Regions from separate parts of the Homo sapiens genome. Here region 2 is linked to region 1. The links are contacts of gene promoters, found by promoter capture Hi-C in blood cells and fetal thymus (Javierre and others, 2016). All regions are on one chromosome and are shown on one strand. Each heading gives the region's core, a stretch centred on a gene start or on the middle of the fragment in contact. The rest is flanking DNA. Distances are from core to core; before and after follow the strand shown. Region 1 holds the start of ZRANB3 (zinc finger RANBP2-type containing 3). Region 2 overlaps MGAT5 (alpha-1,6-mannosylglycoprotein 6-beta-N-acetylglucosaminyltransferase).

Evidence for each region. The method cuts DNA at HindIII sites, captures the fragments that hold promoters and counts their contacts. A CHiCAGO score of 5 or more calls a contact.
Region 2: a contact is called between a fragment that was not itself captured here and the fragment with the promoter of ZRANB3 in region 1, in 1 of 17 cell types (total B cells). The highest score is 9.6, in total B cells.

What each region holds. Positions count from the first base shown.
Region 1 is chr2:135,528,452-135,532,983 of GRCh38, reverse strand. It overlaps ZRANB3 (zinc finger RANBP2-type containing 3), which reads left to right and starts at 1,766. Exons shown (of 21, transcript NM_032143.4): 1 at 1,766-1,857. R3HDM1 (R3H domain containing 1) reads right to left here and starts at 1,500. Exons shown (of 27, transcript NM_001378107.1): 1 at 1,351-1,500. RefSeq lists a silencer at 1,334-1,523 and enhancers at 1,491-1,785, 1,754-2,023, 2,374-2,453. The HindIII fragment of the contact is 14,144 bases long and covers 1,613-4,532 here.
Region 2 is chr2:134,260,818-134,265,349 of GRCh38, reverse strand. The region is part of intron 1 of MGAT5 (alpha-1,6-mannosylglycoprotein 6-beta-N-acetylglucosaminyltransferase); the gene reads right to left. Among named protein-coding and RNA genes, the nearest start is that of MGAT5, 9.0 kb to the right of the region's middle. RefSeq lists an enhancer at 3,590-3,639. The HindIII fragment of the contact is 1,342 bases long and covers 1,920-3,261 here.

The DNA of each region.
Region 1 (4,532 bases), core at 517-3,016:
TGCTAACAAGTAAACCTCAGAAATGGGCCTAGAATTTTATCTCTGATCACAGTTATGTCTACTACAGACTATAGAATCCATGATTTAAAGACATATTCTTCCAGGCATAAAAGCAGAGTGGTATTTGAAAAGACGAGCGTACTCCATCAAAATGTGATGAAGAAATCATAACAGAATGCCCTAAAAATAGCCAAATATGCCAAATTTTTAGAAATTGAGACGTGTCCAATTATTCCTGTCAGACTGGTATCCTATTACTTAGAAGATCTTGTTTCACATATTATAAATGGGTAGACTTTCAGTTTGACTTTAATCATCTTTTCATTTAAAAGTTTTTGTCATCAATGATATTTAAGCTAAAAAAGGTTTCTTACAGTTACAATTAGGTAAACTATAACCATGAAGATATATATATATATATTTAGAAAATTTTATTAGAAAAACCATTTGCTGTTCACTAATCCTAATTTGGAAAGCACCTCTTCTTCACCTTTTACTTAACTATCCCAGGACAATTACACACGGAGCATGATAGTCCCAATAATTTAAGTTTCTTTATAAAAACAAGCTCAACAGAGTCACCCTTTGCACCTAGTCACAGCAACAAAAGAAAACAAAACACCAAAAAACTTCAAAGCCCACAAAGATTTGTTGGCAGCCTAAGGCTCAGGAATCAAAACGTGTGTAAATCTGATCCCGGGGGACCGTGGCACTGACAGTCATTCAACTTTCTTTTTAATATTCCCATTGTGCTTTTTCTGGTACCACAGGGAAAATGTACCTACATTTTACCAACCGGTCGAAGCTGAAAATTCTCTTGGTGCAAGGCCAGGGGATGCGGCCGTGGGGCGGCCGGGGGAGCCCGGGGCACCGGCGCCAGCCACACGAGAGAGCAGTACCACGCTCTTGGCAGGCCTGCTGTGGCTGGCTCCCGAGTCCCTGGGGCTGCAAGAGCAGCCGCGGAGGCAGCAGCAGCAGCCATGGCAGGGACTCGGAAACCTTTCCCCTGCCTCCTCCGCTAGGCCTCGAGGGGTTTGCTTTTCACATGGCCCCCGGGTGGGGGCGGTGGGCACAAGGCAGTGGCTGCAGCTGCAGCCGGAGCCGCAGCCGCGGGCCAGGCGAGCCTGGCTCACTCGGAACCCGACCTAACGGCGGGCTGGCAGCAGCGGGACGTCAGAAGGCCCTGGCTGAAGCGCCGACGACCCGGCGGGGAAGGCCACCTTTCCACACACCACATCTCTCCCCTGCCTGCCTCCTTCTCCGTTAGCGCTACCGGTTGGCGGGCGGGGGAGGGGAGCAAGGCGCGTTATTCCCGGGGAGCTGGACGGGGGAGGGAAGGGCATCTCTTACCCGCGTTACTGAGGAGGAGGAGGCGGTTGGAGCGCGGCGCGGCGGGGCGACGGCGGGGCTGGGTGGGTGCAAGTAAGAGTCTTACGAAAGGGAATTAACCCCATCACCAGCCCGGACACCGGCTCCAGCGGCAGCCGCGGCTGGCAGAATCCCGCCCCTTCCCACCACGCACTAGCCCCGCCTCTTCGTTCTCTTTGAGCGGCAGCCGACTATTCATAGGTTGTACGTCCCCGGAGTGACATGAGTTTTGCCCAATCAAGCTTGAAAAAAACTGTCTTCTCTCCACCCCTTTACCTCCTCCCAGGCCGCGGAGAGCCGTGCCAAATCTTCCTCCAACCTCAAGAGAAAAAGAACCAATCCGTGGTAAGTAACCGCCCTTGAAGGACGCAAAAGCCAACCAATGGTAAAACTAGGAGGACAGCCATTTTGCCCACTTGTAAAAGAGCTACCTTTTCCCACGAGTTGGAGCCTGAGGTGCGGAGTTTCGTGAGTTTTTACTGACTCGAGGTATTTAAAAGACAACCAGATCTCCTCAGTGGGTATTTATAGTGCTTTTTAGGGGTAAAGGAAAATTATCCTCCATGTGGGGCGAAGTGAGGCATGCTGCTTAAGGGGTTGGCTCCTCCCCTTAGCGCTAACGGGTTCTGAAACGAACACCTGGTTTCTCCAGCTTCAGTGGCGGAGGGCGGGGTGATTGCTCTTTTCGGCCTGGAGCGGACTACGATTCCCAACATGCTTTTCCCCTACTCATAACTTCTCCTCCGTTCACTTGTCGCGGTGCTTGGCTGGAATTGTAGTTCCTGAGAGGTACCCATGCCGCCGCTTCAGCCAATGAAAAGGGACAGAGTTTTGAATGACTTGAAATTAGGGCGGAGAACGAGTTGTCGCGAGGCTGTACAGAGCCCTTTTCGCAACCCTAACGGGAGAGAAGTGATGGAAGAAGGGTAGCCGGAAGAGTTTCCTCAAAATACCATAGGGGTTTTAAATTATTAGTACGTATTTAAACTCATCTACTTTCACGTTGTCCCGTTGAACGTCACTTCCGCTTAGGGGCGGACACGTCCCAAACCTGTGGCGGGAGTTGGAGATTCTGCGGCGAATACGCCAGGTGTGACTGGCTGGAAGTGGCGTGGCTGGCAAGTCGCTAGTTTCTTGCATGGGAGATAAAAAGTTGAACGGAATTTAATGGCATTTTAAGAAAGAGTGGGTGACATGGGATGGGGGTAATTTCCAGGGCCCTTATTACTTTCTCCACCCCGGCCTTCAATCGCGGGCGTCTCGGCCTGCTCGCTATTAGATTGCACGGCTAAATTTGTAGAAAGTACCTCTACTGCCTTTAGTCTTCGCGTGGTCAGTTTGAACTGTAAAGACAGGGCTCCGAAGTTCTGAACTACATTTACAGACACACTTTTTTTTTTTTTTTTTGAGACGGAGTCTTGCTCTGTCCCCAGGCTGGAGTGCAGTGGTGGGATCTTGGCTCACTGATTCACGCCATTCTCCTGTCTCAGCCTCCGGAGTAGCTGGGATTACAGGCGCGCGCCACTCAGCCCAGCTAATTTTTTGTATTTTTAGTAGAGACGGGGTTTCACCATGTTGGCCAGGATGGTCTCGATCTCCTGACCTCGTGATCCGCCCACCTTGGCCTCCCAAAGTGCTGGGATTACAGGCGTGAGCCACCGCGCCCGGCCACAAACACACTTCTAAAGTCAGCTTGGAAGGAAAAGAGTCACAGAAAAGGGCTTTTCTGTTTGAAGGATTGATAATCAAGAGTGGCCCCATCACCACTCTTTGAGTAACGACCATTTATTAAACGAGTGGCAGACAGGCGCGGTGGCTCAGACCTGTAATCCTAGCACTTTGGGAGGCCGAGGCGGGAGGATTACTTGAGGTCAGGAGTTCGAGACCAGCCTGGGCAACATGGTGAAATCTTGTGTCTGCTAAAAACTCACACACACACATTAGCCGGACGTGGTGGCAGAGATCTGTAGGATCTGTAGTCCCAGCTACACGGGAGGCTGAGGCAGGAGAATCGCTTCAACTTCGGAAGTGGTTACAGTGACCCGAGATCGCGCCACTGCACTCCAGCCTCGGGTGACAGAGCGAGACTCCGTCTCAAAACAAAAACAAAAACAAAAAACGTGTGACTACAGGGTGCCAACTATAATACACCGATGAATAAAGGCATCACTAAAAAGATGCCTTTATTCATCGGCCACATGGAGCCCACAGCCTAATAATCTTAGCACGTAAGGCCCTGATTTATGCCTCCTTCAGAGTTCAAGGGCGACTGTATGTATACTTTTGGACATTCCATTTAAGGTACCCAGGAAAACTGATTGAATAAAGAAGATACAAGTTACAGAAAAGGGTTTTTCCCTCCCTATGCGTGTGCCCTTTATTCTTAAACTCTTTGCTTTATTATTTTGACTGAGACTTTCTCAGATAAATTCTAATTCAGTTTACTCCATGATTTTACTGAGATTTTCTCTTATAAATCCTGTTGTATTTATGGTATGAGCGCTTAACACTGTATTGGGTACTATACCAGACTTTGGGTAGAGCAGTGCCTAAAAAGACAGGCTCCTTGTCCAAAAGTTGTGAGGAAGAGAGAGGCTAAACAAAATTGTAATGTCACTTACTGTTTCAATCTCTAAGTCAAGTCTTCTTTAGTCACATTTTGTATGTTTATTTGGTCCCTTCTTTACATTCTACCTTTGGATTAAAATAAGCACGTTTTCCTCTTTGCATTGTTTTTACTAAAGCACTAATCTGTGTCCAATACTAACGAGTGATGTTTGTATACAAAGTAAGATGGTAAATTTTATAGTGTAATCCTGCTAGATATAGGAATGTAACCATACCTTGCAGCAAGACATTTTTGTAGATCTACCAGGCAAAGTGTTGTCTCTTGCTTTTTAATGCAATTAGGATATTCAGTGATAATTTAGCAATGCAGTCTACTGTAGATGCTTAGTTTTTTTTTTTATTTGTTTGTGTCAGGAGTTCTTCCAGTGTAAATCTAGTCACTAAATAGTAATGATGGCCATCATTTTATTGAGTTTCGTCTGAGCCAGAAATGATGTTATGTGTGATAAGTACATTTTCCTTATGACAAACTGTAAGTCTTCTTGACATTTTTATATTTGAAGAAAGTGAGGCTCAATGAAGGTAAATAAGACTTG
Region 2 (4,532 bases), core at 1,341-3,840, 1.3 Mb after region 1:
CACTTTTCTCCATCTCTGGAATTCAAGGAGATGGGATCTCAGTAAAAAGGAGGGCCCTGCTGGTGGAATAAGGTTTATAGATCTATCAGCTAATGCTGTGAGACTGGGTGGTAAACCTTCATTTCCCAGATCATCAAAATCAATCCGTATTTGAGGAATTATCAAAAATGGCCATGCTTGGGAGCTATGCTGTCCACCACCCCATTTTTCCTGGAACATGCTTCTAAAGCAGTGGTTCTTAGCCCTGCTGTGCATCAGACTCACTTTGTGCAGTCAGTTACCAGGTTGCATCTTCAACACACTAAATCCGGATCTGCAGAGTCCGTCAAGGATTAGGGCACAGCCAAGGTTGAGATCTACTGTGAAGGTACGGCCGCCATGATACTATGGCACAGAACCAACTACGCAATGAGCAAGGTCTTACATCTGAAATGCCAAAAATTATTTACATCTGTGCCTGCTCATGAATCAAATCCCTTTCACCATGGCTGCCCGAGAGGCAGAGCATGAACAACAGAGCCACAGAGCAGCTTCACTTGCTGCTCTGGAGAAACTGGCAAAGACAGGGCGTTAATGAGAAAGGAAGGTGCTATTGAAAAAAGAATTAACCTCAACCTCTTATTTCCATTGACTGTCAGGAATGTCAAGTTTCATCAATTATATATTTTTAAATTAATTTTAGAGTGATCTTTCCACAGAAAGATAATAGAGTTACAGTAATGACCCAAATACAGTCCATTTATTATGTACAAGGACATTCAAAGCAGTGTTATTTATAAAATAGCGTTATTACAGATAAGAACTGGAAATTACCCAAACACAAAATAAAAAGATTAAATTACATTATGTCAGCCATTCATAAGATAGAATAAATCACTAGACTGTAAACTTAGGGAGGGCAGAGACCAAGTCTGCTTGTCATCTCTGTTTACAGCCACTAGCTATTAATATCAGGAGTTCAATAAATATTTGTTAAGTGGATGGATAAAAAACGAAAAGTATACAGTCATCAAAAATACTTAATGGCTGGCCGGGTGCGGTGGCTCATGCCTGTAATCCCAGCACTTTGGGAGGCCGAGGGGGACCGATCACCTGAGGTCGGGAGTTTGAGACCAGCCTGACCAACATGGAGAAACCCCGTCTCTACTAAAAATACAAAATTAACTGGGCATGGTGGCACATGCCTGTAATCCCAGCTACTAAGGAGGCTGAGGCAGGAGAATCGCTTGAACCTGGGAGGCGGAGATTGCGGCGAGCCGAGATCGTGCCATTGCACTTCAGCCTGGGCAACAAGAGTGAAACTCCATCTCAAAAAAAAAAAAAAAAAAAAAACCTAATGGCATAAGGAAATGCAGTATCTTAATTTTTAAAAAAGCATATATTCATGTACATATATACACATATACACACATGTACGTATCACTTTTTTTTTTTAAAGAACTAAAGGGAAATCAATTTTATCTGGTAAGATCTGCATTTAGAGGTAAAGAGTGTATTTATTCTTTATTCTTCTCCATACTTCCTCATATGCTTTAATTTTACATAAAAATTCACATTATTTTCAAAGTCACAAAGGCATTAAGTGTTATTTTAAATATATATACATAGTACAATGAATTGTACTCTTAAGAATCAAAGATAGTGCCACCAGTACCCTAAAGTCATGTAAGGCAATACCCACCAGAAACATCTTAGTGACCCTTACTGCCTTATCTCATTTGAATTTTAAAGCCACATGTTAGATAATTTGCCTGCTCCTGAACTGACAAAAAGGTGGCTTCCACCCTGCAGTTGTCCCAGTCAGCAGATTCTGGACAGAAAAGGGCATAAAACAATTATCACCAAAGTCAAAGAGCAGCTCAGATGCTCAGCAACACTGACTAGCCTTCTCTTCTGGGTTAGAACTACAGATTTAAGCTTTCACCAGAACTTGTGCCCAGAAGCGAATGTTTTTCCTAAGGTGTTGCAGAGGGTGTCATTACTATTGAGGAAGTTTCCATGCATCGAAATCTGGTAAAAGATCCTTTCTAGGCCTGTTGATGATATTAAGTGCTTTATGGAACCTGAATAGAGTTCTTAAGCTATTCTTTGAATTTTCCTAACATGTAGCCAGCTGCAGGGAATAGGAACCAAGAATTTTAGCCTTTTTTATAGAAAAGATAAGGAATCAGAGAAGTGCTGAGAGGTCAAGCCTATTGTTATCCATTGTCCCCCACCTGATGCCAGGGCCCGCACCTTCTTGGAAAGGGTGGCCTCGCACACTACTGCTTCCTGCTTGCTGTACCATGCCAGAAACACCACCACCACCAATGCCCTGGTTAGATCCAAAGGTGAACTTGGCCATACCCAGCTTATCTTACAGCCCACAGAAGAAAACTGTATCTTTTGAACAGGGCAATGACAACCACATCTCCTAGTTTAGTAGGGTGGTGGCAAGCCTGACCTCTTCTGAAACAGAGCATATTTCCTCTCATGTCTGGTCAGGCTCTACCCCTGTAAATGCTAAGAATAGCTACATAAACAGGTTGCTGAAGCCCTGTGTTCAAACAAATGAACAACGTCAGATCTACATGAACAGTTATGCCTGGGTGGTAACAGATGCAGGTACATTCAAGCCAGAGTTAGTGATTACTAATAGGAATGAATGCATTTTAATTAAGCGCTGGTTGGGCACAGTGGCTCACACCTGTAATCCCAGCACTTTGGAAGGCTGAGGTGGGAGGATCGCTTGAGGCCAGGAGTTTGAGACCAGCCTGGGCAATACAGTGAGATTCCATCTTTAGAAAAAAAACTTTTGTTTTAAATTAGCCTAGTGTGGTGGCACATGCCTATAGTCCCAGCTACTCTGGAGGCTGAGATGGGAGGATCACTTGAGGCCAGGAGTTTGAGACCAGCCTGGGCAATACAGTGAGACTCCATCTTCAGAAAAAAACTTTTGTTTTAAATTAGCCTAGTGTGGTGGCACATGCCTATAGTCCCAGCTACTCTGGAGGCTGAGGTGGGCATAAGGCTTGAGTCTGGGAGGGGGAGGTTGCTAGAGCCTGATCACACTACTGTACTTCAGCCTTGGTGACAGAGCAAGACTCTATCTCCAAAACAAAACAAAACAAAATAAAACAAAAACAACACCAAAAAAAAAGAACAAGAATAATCTAAATTAATCTAAGTGCCTTAATAAACTTTGTCATTTGTAATCCTTACAACAAGCCTATGAGGTTAAATGATATTATATTGTCTGTTTTACAAAAGAGGAAGTAAGCTTTAAGATGATCGGTGACTTGTTCAAGGTCACACATCAGTAAGGAACACAATGTGTTCCATCCGCCCAACAGAAACACTAACTACCTTCCAGAATAAACAATGGTTCCCATGTTAGGATCATGCATAAGAGCTACTTGGAGCCTCTTAGATGCAGAGCCCATAGGGAATTTCTTCTCATTTCCTGCTTCACTAAAAACATTACTGTGATTTTCAAATGAGTCCCAGCTGTAACTGTACCACACAGAGCATCACAGAGTTTCACCAGGGGCTGCTGCTATTCATTCATGGCTCTTACTATGTGCCAGGCAAAAGGTACTAAGCTCTGGGGCACAGTGGGGAACAAAACAGACCAAAGTCCCTCCTCTTTCAGAACTTACATTGTAAGTGGGAGAGACACATGATCAGCTCATACAACAAATACTTGATGCTAAGTAGCTTGAGTGTTATAAAGAATGAGAGTAACAGTGGGTTTGGGCCCTCCTGTGAAGGAGGGAAGGCTAACTTCTCTGAAACAGAATGGAATGCGCATGGCTGTGTTCTAACCAACTTTATTTACAAACAAAGAAGGAAGAGAGGAAGGGGTGGGGGAGAGCAAATGCAGACGCTCAAAGACAGGCGAATGCTCAGCCACCACCCAACAGTCTTGTCCTAGAAGAGAGCCACCATGCCTTAGTAGACTTGAGGGGGTGCGGAGCTTTTTAGGGTGTCCACAGCAGCAAGAGGTCTGCTCAAGCACTTCTGACAGCAAAAGAGCACCAGGACACAGCTGGGAAGAAGCAGAGGGTCATAGAGAGCTATGACCATCAGGTAAGACAAGGGACATTCTAAGCCTCATCGTTTGAACATGGCAATGACAATCACATTGAGATTGAGACTCCAACCTCACACATGTGCGTGCAATCCCTCCTCAATCCAGACTTGAAGTAGTGGTGCTGCATGAAAGAAAGGGTCTTAATGACTGAGGGGTAGAAGAATGAGCCCCTTATTCTGAGTTTACTCCTCCTGTCTAAAACATTTCTGAGGTCTTCCTCAGACCTTTTGACTGGCCTGGGCGTGCTTGTGAACTTGGCCTGGCTTTGATGAGGATACTGGGCAGGCTGGACTCTACCACAGGATGGCTGGAAAAGTCCCAAGCCACAGAGAGGCCCATTTTTAGGTTCCAAGCTTTTTAAAGCAGAAAGCCCTTTCTTTAATCACACCAGCCACGTCACCATACAGTAACTAAAAGCCTTCTCAGACACACTGAACAGCCCAGCTATTTTTTTCCCTAC